Regions from separate parts of the Homo sapiens genome. Here region 1 is linked to region 2. Evidence: promoter capture Hi-C in 16 types of primary human blood cells and fetal thymus (Javierre and others, 2016). All regions are on one chromosome and are shown on one strand. The core of a region is centred on a gene start or on the middle of the fragment in contact, and the rest is flanking DNA. Distances in the headings are between cores, read along the strand shown.

Evidence for each region. Contacts are between HindIII fragments. The CHiCAGO score rates a contact against its expected background, and 5 or more counts as called.
Region 1: a contact is called between a fragment that was not itself captured here and the fragment with the promoter of PDSS2 in region 2, in 2 of 17 cell types (naive B cells and total B cells). The highest score is 6.3, in naive B cells.

Annotation. Positions count from the first base shown.
Region 1 is chr6:108,051,902-108,057,139 of GRCh38, reverse strand. It overlaps OSTM1 (osteoclastogenesis associated transmembrane protein 1), which reads left to right. Exons shown (of 6, transcript NM_014028.4): 3 at 2,553-2,650. Among named protein-coding and RNA genes, the nearest start is that of OSTM1, 20 kb to the left of the region's middle. The HindIII fragment of the contact is 1,714 bases long and covers 2,414-4,127 here.
Region 2 is chr6:107,458,021-107,463,926 of GRCh38, reverse strand. It overlaps PDSS2 (decaprenyl diphosphate synthase subunit 2), which reads left to right and starts at 4,363. Exons shown (of 8, transcript NM_020381.4): 1 at 4,363-4,937. The coding sequence starts at 4,642. RefSeq lists enhancers at 3,401-4,322, 4,043-4,492. The HindIII fragment of the contact is 2,928 bases long and covers 4,012-5,906 here.

The sequences.
Region 1 (5,238 bases), core at 2,021-4,520, 590 kb before region 2:
TCTCCCCTCTCAGCCTCCCAAGCCGCTGGGACCACAGATGCACGCCACCATGCCTGGCTAATTTTGTATTATTTGTAGAGACAGGTTTTCACCATGTTGCCCAGGCTGGTCTCGAACTCCTGGACTCAGGCAATCCACCTGCCTCCCAAAATGCTGGGATTACAGGTGTGAACCACCATGCTGGCCTATTTTTATATCAATGGCTTATTAACTTGTGGTATGATCATCAGCATATCACCTATTTCTGTGGCTTAGTTTCCTAATTTGTAGTGATCCCTCAGATTTTTTAAATAAGGGTGAGAAGTTAGAATGAGATTCATGTTCTGGAGAAGATAAAGCTTCAGAGAATGTAGAGTATGTGAGTTCAGAGAGGGGACAACTCCTGAAATAGGTTTACCAAGAGGATCCTGTGTACAATGGGTGCAGAAGGAGCCCTGCACAAGGGGGCTGTACAAGGAGGTGAATGGGGCTGAATTCCAGCTTAGCTTCTGGAGGCAGGAATGACCTTTTGTAATTTATCTACCCAGAGGGAATATCTTTTTCTGATTTGCACAAAGGAGCTTTACTGTGCTGTCTGCCCCTGTCTACCAGGTTTAGGTTTCATCTCAGTTGCTAACTCTGATCAGTTGGTGGGGACTGCCTGAATCCCTGTATGGTGTAAGATATCTATGGGTAGTGGAGGGAGTAGGCAGTGGCATGTATTTGTAGATTCCGAGTCTTGAACTTTTAATGGTTTAGAATGTAGATATAAATATGTTTATTTTGCAGTGTTTGAGAGTGCAGGCTCAAGAATCAGACTGAGTACAGAGTCTAGCTTTTTACTTACCAGTTTTATGTCCTTGGGCAACTTCCTTAATTTATCTAAACCTATCTCTGTTCCTTATTTATAAAATGGAGATAATGATAATTTTTCCCTCATGGAATCACTGCAAGAATTAAATGGGCAAATGTGTTTAAAGTGCAGTGTAAGCATAGTTCTTAGAACATAGCAAGTATTTAGTAAGTGTTAACTTTCGTTGTAGTAATTGTTGTCTGTCAGAGTACATGGATGTCCCTTAGTGTGTCATATCCTAGTGTCTACCTAGTCCGTCTCTCTTTTCTCCACAAATTCTACTTGCCTTGCTGCCTTTCTCCTGGGTAATTGCAATAGCTTTGCATGTTGTCTTTCCACTTCCAGTTGAGAGAGATCCTATCTGATGGCCCTGAATTTCTAAATAAGGTGGGCATAATACAAAGCCATCTGTTGAAATTAAGGGGAACAAGAGTAGGGCTGGGACTAGAGATGAGAAAATATGTGGAACATCCCTTGCAGAGCAATTAGGAGGGCATCTACAAGGATCATTTTGTTGCCCCGAGATCAGAACACATGAATTTGAATTGAGTCCCTTCATTATCATTTTAGAATTTCTGTAGTAGTATTCTGTAACCAGACTGAGAGTACAGAAAGTAGATGGGGACTGTCCAGGGATGAAAATGGCTGTGAATATGTGGAAGATAAAGAGGGCAAGGATTCTAGGAGAGTCAGATGGAAACGACTGACCACAAGTTCCAAGATCTGGAACCAGGCAGTTGAACCTCGATTGGAGATAGCAGGCTGAGAACACAAGGAGAGGTAAAGACAAAGGTTTACCTGAGGATAAAGACTAGGTTCCCTGGCTGAGCGCAGTGGCTCATGCCTTTAAGTAATCCCAGCACTTTGGAAGGTTGAGGTGGGAACATCACTTGCGCCCAGGAGTTCAAGTCTGCAATGAGCTGGCAAATTGTGCCACTGCACTCCAGCCTGGGCAACCGAGCAAGACCCCGTTTCTTAAAAAAAAAAAGAAGAATAGATTATTCCCTGAAGAAGGGAAAATGGATACATAAATTGTGATATACACATACATAGAAAATAAAAGGGATGAGTGAACTTGAGCTAACTCTAAGCAAGAATAGCCAGTTGCAGAGAAATACCATTTATGTAGGATTTTTAAAAATGTAAAACAATTTTGTTTCTAGACTTTACTTGAAGCCCCCACGTCAGTATTTTAGGCAAAATTCTCACCAGTTTGTTTCTCTGGGCTCCCAACTCGTGATGGATTAGAAAGAGCGAATTTTAAAAGTTACCCCATTAGGTACAATAAATGACTCATTAGTGAAGTTGGAAGATGCAGAGAACTATGAAATTTGACACAAAAAATGATAAGGCATATGAGTTTCGGTAAAATTAATGCAGGGTAAACAGTCTTATGCCTAAATAGCACTGTTAAGGCAGCATTTGATAGCTGATATTCCGTGATTATGACCTTGTGCCATCAAAAGTCCATTTGAATTTTATTTGGTATATTTTTATGAAAAGAGAGTATGTGATTATTTTAACATGTTCATGAAAATGGTTATGACTTTTTTAACTTTTGGAAAATAAAAGGAGTAAGCTTCATATATTTGGAAAATTCATGCTTGTTTGAATAAAGAATTACTGTAGTGTGAAACGAAGCTGATAGCTTAAGATATAAATGACAACATAGAATTGTTCCTTGAGTTATATTAATATACTTTTTGAATTTTTTTGACAGATTGTTTAACAAACAACAGTGAAGAATTATCAAACAGCACAGTATATTTCCTTAATCTATTTAATCACACCCTGACCTGCTTTGAACATAACCTTCAGGTATTTTATATATAATATTTAAAATTAAAATGCTGCCTTGTACAAAGGAATAATGTGCAGTTCCAAGTTTTTAGAGCACTAATTATTGATATTTATCTAAATTCATGATGTAAAGGAGTTAGTGGACCTGGATTTCTGCTCTTAAGTAAGTTCTTCTACTTACAAATCATGAAAACCTCAGTTCTCTCATTGTAAAATGGAGATAATATCTATCCTGCCTATCTTAAAGTATTTTGTAATGAGAATCTGGTGAGATAATGATTGTGAAAACATTGATTGAGGTGTGTGATTGTTTAATTAAAACACAATGGTTTTCAATCTGACTTACGTAGGTATTTTGCAGTGTAGTATGATTCTGTCTATAGGAAGTTTATTCTTTGCCTGAAATTTGCTTAAGTATGTTTTACCTACCTTAAAAAGCACTGTTTAGTAAGATAACTTTGAGTATTGAATTATGATAATAAAAGGTAGCTTTAAGAATCTTAACCTTGTAGATTATTGCCATCTCTATCTCTGACTCTTGAATTTTGGTATTGGAACTTGCCCGGTCGTGGTGAAGGACGAGGTTGGAACTCTGGTTAAAATGTAGTTTTGAAACTTACATAACAAGTAAGTAATCCCCATAGTAGATGTACACATGCTTAGGGTATAAGCATGTATGATTTCTTCTGTAATAAATGTGGTAACACTGAATTATGAATTTCCTTGAGAATAATAAAAATTGGGCCAGGTGCAGTATCTCATGCCTATAATCCCAGCACCTTGGGAGGCCAAGGCAGGCAGGTCACTTGAGGTCAGGAGTTCGAGATCAACCTGGCCAATATGGTGAAACCCTGTCTCTACTAAAAATACAAAACTTAGCCAGGCTTGGTGGTGCACGCCTGTAGTGAAGTAGAGGTTGCAGTGAGTTGAGATCGTGCCATTGCACTCCAGCCTGGGCGTTGCAGAGAGACTCTGTCTCAAAAAAATAAAATAAAAAAAATTAGGTGAACATTTCTCAGAATTTGTTCTGCAGCATGTTAATAGATGTCCTATCAGAAAGGGTTTAGTATTCCATTAAGGTTGGGAAATGCTTTACTACAGGACTTCAGAGCCTTTAGTGGACTGATGTGTGTTGTAACACTCAAATAGCAATTTTTCTATAAAGTCATCCCTTTTATATATGGCTTCACTTTCCACAGTTTCAGTTACCTGTGGCCAACTGCAGTCCAAAAATATTAAATGGAAAATTCTGGAAATAATAAGTTTTAAATTGTACACCATAAACAGTCTTCTTTTCATTTAACTTAGAGTACTTGTATGAGTTTGGTAGATTTCTAGAAGTAGAATTACTATATTGGCAGCCTAAGAAAAAGACACTAGAGAAAATTATCTCCAAATATGATGAGTTTATTAGGGAATAAGAAAGAAGTATGGTAATTTGGAATGCACTGGCAAACCACCAGTACATCCAGTGAGGGAAGGGTAAAGGGAAGCTTTTATTAGCAAAAAGGGAGAGGTTCACACAAGCTGCTTGGAAACTGAGTTCATTGGTTCCTGAGGCTCAAAGCCAAGTTGTCAGTTCATTGGTGGCGATGCCATTACTGGGCAAGTGTTCTTTTGAGTGCATCTTATCTGAATTACTGCAGTCCTAAAGAATGGCAGTGATAAACCATGTGAAAGCAGGAGTTGCAATGAAGGGCGTGAAAGGATTTCTTGTGGGGTTTTTAGAAAGTCTTTGGAAACAAGGACTCTTTTTGTCTCTATTTTGTCTTGGTCTGTCAAAAGGTGATTTCATCCTAATGTCTGCAACTTTCACATTATTAAAAGATATGTGCATTTTAAATTTGAATAAAAATTGTGGCCAGGTATGGTGGCACCTGCCTGTAATCCCAGCACTTTGGAAGGTTGAGGTGGGAGGATCATTTGAGCCCAGGAGTTAGAAATTAGCCTGGGCAAAATAGCAAGACCGTGTCTCAAAAAAAAAAAAAAAAAAAAAGGTTAAATTACTCCCCATCTAGATTATGTGCACAATTTTAGTTAAATGGATTATGTGCTCAATTTTTTTTTTTTTTTTTGAGACGGAGTCTCGCTCTGTCACCCGGGCTAGAGTGCAGTGGCGCGATCTCGGCTCACTGCAAGCTCCGCCTCCCGGGTTCACGCCATTCTCCTGCCTCAGCCTCCCAAGTAGCTGGGACTACAGGTGCCCGCCACCACGCCCGGCTAAGTTTTGTATTTTTAGTAGAGATGGGGTTTCACCGTGTTAGCCAGGATGGTCTCGATCTCCTGACCTTGTGATCCGCCCACCTCGGCCTCCCAAAGTGCTGGGTTTACAGGTGTGAACCATCGCGCCCAGCCCTGTGCTCAATTTTTAACTAAGTGCACAATTGTTCTGTGAAAAACAAGCAATGGGCTATTTCTTGTAGCAGACTAAGGAGAGACTTAGTTTTTCTGTCAAGCAGATGGTGAGGGTAACATTGTTGGGCCAACATCAGTGTAATTACTTTGATTTTTCTCTTTTCTCTTTCATCCCAATGTTCAGTTAATATTCTTTCTTCATACTACAAAGTAAAGAATAAAGGGCATAGAAAGCAAAGGTGTGAACTGAC
Region 2 (5,906 bases), core at 3,114-5,613:
GAGAGAGACTGTGTCTCAAAAAAAAAAAAAAAAAAAGAATGTGAATGCTAAAGATGCTTATTACTACAAAATTGTCATTACTTCTAGGCCTTTCCAAGGGACAAAGGAAGTAAAATGCTTTTTTTCCCCTAATAATTCTTACTGGGATATAAGAAAAACATTTTTTAAAAAGAAAAGAATCATAAGTTCATATTCTTTCTAATTCAACTTTAATATTACATGGATTCTACTTACTCTGAAAATCACTGTTCCTAAAAACTCTAGTAATTTTTACCTATATATACATGAATAGTTTGAAAGTACTATAATAGTATCTGTATTTCAACCACCAATAAGACTATTGACTAAAGCTTAAGATATCTTTGTAGTTCTATTTATCCTGAGCATATATTCTGATTGTACAGTGAAAACAATATTTTCTAAAGTAATTAAAGTGTTTACTTGGTATGGTTATGCCACCAACTTAATATACAGTTAGATTATTTGTTTTCAAATTTTAGGAATTGCATTTTTCTTTCGGATTTGAAATTATTTTGAAAATGTAAAACATATACATGATTCTAAAATCAAAACCATATAGCCAAGGCTTATTCAGAGTAGTCTAGCTTCCACGCCTGTCTCCTCCACCTGTTTCCTCCTATTCCAAATATATGCAAATACTCATTTGTAGTTTAGCTATCTTACAAAAAAAAAGCACATATACTGTTCTGCACTTTGGTTTTTTTTTTTTTTTACACTAATATATATTCGGAGATCATTTCACCTCAGTGTAAAGAAATGGCCCTCGTTCTTTTTCACAGTTGCATAGTTTCATTGTGTAGATCTACTCGAGTTTGTTCAACCAATCTCTTATTTGGGGTTATCTGGATTGTTTCCAATCTTTTGCTATTACAAATAATACTGCAATGAATAACCTTGTGCTTAAGTCATTATTTGGGATATTTTCCTAGAATTGGGTTTCTAGGGCAAAGGGCAATATATATGTAATTTTGCTGAGGATTATCAAATTCCCTTCCATAGCTGCCATGTACCATTTTGCATTCTCAATGGCACTATGTGGCATCTCCATAGCCTGCTAACCAAGTAGGTGGTCAAACTTTTGGATTTTTGCCTCCTTTTATCATCTTTGCCCAAGATACACCACGACGCTTTCATCTGCCTTTGGAAGAACTCTCTCAGGATAAACAATAGGTGATTGTATTGAGGGTGACATAAGGAGGGTGGCTGCAATATCTCTATCTATTTCCACTCACCTAATCATGGAAATGCCAGCGCCCACAGCACTATCCTTGTTAAGAGCTTGTATTTTCCAAGGCTGGCTCGGGTTTCCAGCCAAAGAAAAGGACATCAAATATGACCTTACTTCTTTCTAAGGTCAGTAGAATGCAGAGTGCCCAGTGAGTTCTACTGGTATAAGCTTCAGAATCCTGAAAAAGGTAGAGGAGGAACTGTGATCATTTTTTGTCAGCGTGCTGTCTCCAAAACAACTCCGATGCCAAGGGGAAGTCCCTGAGTGTGGCTGAAAGTTTCCATAGGTTGTGGAGTGACCACTCTCTAACCTGCAGGGCTACTCACACCCAGGACTTCTTTTTTGCTGCTTTGTAGGAGTAAATGTCATGGATGGACACTGTTTTTTTCTTTCAGCATCTCCCATTTCCCAGTGGGCAATTTTGCACTCCAGGGTGACAGACATTTGGTAATGTTTGGAGACATACCTCGTTGTCACAACTTGGAAAGGGGTGCTGCTTAACATCTAGTACGTAGAGGTCAGGAATGCTACTCAACACCGTACAATACTCAGGACTGCCCCCCTTCCCCCAACAAAGAATTATCTGGTCCAAAACGCCAAAAATGCCAAGGCTGAGAAATCCTGCTGTATTCTTTCTTTATGCACACATTCACAGACATCTTTAATATAACTATTATCAGTGGCAGAGGAAGGGCAGAATCACAGATACTCCCCCTCCCTGTTTCTCCAAAAGTCACTAGCAATTCAGAAATTTCTTTAATCATAAAGACTCTAAGGAATTATATATTTATCTGGGAGATTAAAGAACAAATACCATTTTAACCTTCTAAAAACTGATTATCATTAAGTATAATGCAACCTTTTAACTGTAAGTATAAAGGAAAATGCTGATTATTTAAAGTAAATGGGACCCAAAGTCCCATGAATAATCAAAAACTTGGTTAATAGAGTATGACCAGAGAATAATGCACTTGGCTTCTGTGGAGAAATTAAAGTACATGCTGTGAATTGCTATTGAGGAAATTGCGTGAAAAGTTACCCTTAAGGTACCATGAGGCTGAAGAAACAGCCTCAGGTGCACAATATATCACATTAGTCTCTATCTATCTTTGTATTTTCATGACTTCTTTCACCTTGGATAACCCAGAAGCTCTGGCCTTGGAACTTTTTGGAATGGTAAAGTATCTCACTCTCCATATTTATTTTCATCTCCTGGAATGGTAAAGTATCTCACTCTCCATATTTATTTTCATCTCCTAACAGACCTGAATTTTGTTGCCAAGAGTTTATCTCTTTCACAGGAATTATTTTCAAACTTCAGCTTACTTACTTTAAGGGCATAGACTGTGTTTGATACTTATAATCACAATTCATGTTAAATAAAATGTGCCCCTGAAAAGTTACACCTAAACTGAATTTTTGTAAATAAAAAATTTAAATCACAAGGAAAACTTGCCAAAGGGAGAGTATGAAGCTAAATCTTTTGTAGAGAAAATCATCTTGTTTTGCAAAGTGAACAACTACTCTTTAAGTCCCAATCTTTATTTGTAGCTCAAGAGGCTGGTACAGTATTATGCATGATGCTCATTTAAAAAATACTGACAGGCTGGGCATGGTAGCTGGTAGCTCACACCTGTAATCCCAGCACTTTGGGAAGCCGAAGTGGGCGGATCACTCGAGGTCAGGAGTTTGAGACCAGCCTGGTCAACATGGTGAAACCCAGTCTCTACTAAAAATACAAAAGTTAGCCGGGCGTGGTGGCAGGCGCCTGTAGTCCCAGCCACTTGGGAGGCTGAGGCACAAGAATTGCTTGAAACTGGGAGGCGGAGGTTGCAGTGAGCTGAAATCGCGCCGCTGTACTCCAGCTTGGGTGACAGAGCAAGACCCATCTCAAAAAATAAATAAAAAATAAAAATAAAATACCATGAATTTGGAAGGATTTTGAAAGTTTTAGAGAGTTTTATAAGCTATTTTTAAGAGTGTAAAAAATGGATAATATATCCTTTATTAAGAACGGTTAACACCTGTTTTAGGTGATAAGAAAGGAGGTAAGATCTTAGGCACATTTGAAAAAAAAATAGGTAGCATTACTTAAAAGATAATCATATTGACTGTTTCCTCTCAGCAATAAGGAGAAAAGAGTGGATGGGAGCCTATTATTTAGACGGTGTAATCTTTCGGTTAGAATACGGATTCTGAAACCAGATTGTCTGGGCTCACATCCCTGTCTAGTGTGGTCTTAGGGAACTTACGCGACTCGACTGCACCTTAGTTTCCTCATACAAAACACGGAGAATACTAATATTATCTACTTAATGAGGTTGTTCTGAGGATTAAATAAAGTAATACATGAACTAGTACGTGAAAAGCACTCCGGTCAGCGATAGTCTTCAATCCTGGAGTTGAGCTCCAGGCTAGGCATAAAGAGGAAGATAAGAGGCAGGGAGTAGGCAACGTTTCATTCTTCCTCTCCGCACCCGCGGGAAGGAGGCACCGCTGTTTCTCCCAAGGCTCAGCGAGGAGGCCGGTAATTCGAAGTTGGATCCGAGGACTTTCCTTGGGACCCCTTTCCGCCGCACCACGCTGCCTTATGTCTGGTTGGGCCCTGAGGACACGAGGGCTCAGCCCCACGCCCCGACTAGGCGTTCCACCACTGAGACGTGGCCCCAGCTCCAGGAGGCATGCAGCCCGAGAGGCCGCCTTCACGCCCGGCCACGGCCACTGCCACTGCCAGGGGCTGGTGGCGATAGCGACAAAAAGCTTCCGGGAGGAACTGGTGCCTCCGCCCGACGCCCTTCCTTGCGGGCAAGCCGGGGGCTGACCGTTGTTCGTGACACCAATACTTATGCATGCCACTCAGTGCTGGGCGCCGGGGACTCTAATGAATCCAGACTCGGCCCAGATACCGTGTGCAGAGGGACCACTCGCCGCCCACAACTGATCCCTGTCACTGACGACCTTTGCTGGCCCAGAGCGGCGGGGTGGGAGGAGCTGAACCTCCCAACCCGGGTTCACCTCCAAAGCACCGCCCCTGCGGGGGCGTTCTCGGGTACGCCGTAAAGTAGAGAGTATACTTAACAACCCGCCTCTGTCTTTACGGCAGGCCGCATTCCATGCCTCCAATATGGCGTCCTCCACATAGGCAGTGGCTGTGGTTTCTACCCCGGGTGGCCGGGGGCAGTGCTGAGCTGGGACTGTTGTTTGCCCAGCCTGGGCTGCAGAAAGCAGCAGTTAAAGTTCGTTTCTGGTCACTGCTCCAGGAAGCCACCTTACTCTGAGGGTCAAGAATTGCCGCTTCCTTTTAGTTACTGTAAGTTCCTCCTCTGCCCCTGGTTTGTTTCCCGCGGCACTTCTGGATACCCCCAGGTCCCAGACCCTTCCAGACTCAAACCATGAACTTTCGGCAGCTGCTGTTGCACTTGCCACGTTATCTTGGAGCCTCGGGTTCCCCGCGTCGCCTGTGGTGGTCCCCGTCCCTCGACACCATCTCCTCGGTGGGCTCTTGGCGTGGTCGGTCCTCCAAGTCCCCGGCCCACTGGAATCAGGTAGTGTCAGAGGCGGAGAAGATCGTGGGGTACCCCACGTCCTTCATGAGCCTTCGCTGCCTGCTGAGCGACGAGCTCAGCAACATCGCTATGCAGGTGCGGAAGCTGGTGGGCACTCAGCACCCTCTGCTTACCACAGCCAGGTGAGCTACCCCTCTCCCGCTGACACACTCGCACTCATTGGAATACTTTTTTTTCTGGCGGGCATACGCATTCTAGCTCTCTCAGACTGGCTCCTGATTTATCTCTTTTTAGTCCTTCCTTTTTACTCACTCCTCCTAGACATTCCGTGTTGTCTCTTCTCTAGTCCACTTAACGTTCTTGCTCAGCTGAGTGCATAAGTGGTTTTCTTTGAAACACTTGTATGCTTTCCTCGATTTTGCTTCTTAATTGTTGAGGATGAAGATGCCTCAGTGATTTGTGGAGAAATCGAGCGGAGATGTAGGTTTATTGAGTCACTTCCTAGAAATTTTTTTTTTTTTTAATGGGATAGATTAATTTTCTGTCCCGCACTGTTCAGGGGGTCACCTCCAGAAAGTAGGCAAGGAGAGAGAGAGAGGCTGAAGGTAGATAATTCTTTCCAACGAATGTCTTGGGGTTGAAGTAGGAATTTATCCCGTTAGTAGTCATTATCTTCTTGGGATGTTTATCACTTATGCTGTACTACTGCTGTGAAACCTGCCTTTAGGATTTATAAAAGTTTTTTTTTTTTTTTTTTTTGAGACGGAGTCTCGCTTTGTCGCCCAGGCGGGAGTAGCTGGGACTACAGGTGCCCGCCACCACGTCCGGCTAATTTTGTTTTTGTATTTTTAGTAGATACGGGGTTTCACCGTGTTAGCCAGGATCGTCTCAATCTCCTGACCTCGTGATCCACCCGCCTCGGCCTCCCAAAGTGCTGGGATTACAGGCGTGAGCCACCGTGCCCGGCCAAAAGTTTTTTTTTTTTCTTCCACTTAAACCCCACACCTGAATTGTAATTAGTTTAAACATACAGCGAAGTTACAAAAATAATATAGTTCAAAGAACACACTTGCATACTCTTTAATCAGATCCACCTGCTACGTAGATATGTCTATATATGTCAATATATACATTAAATACATATACACACA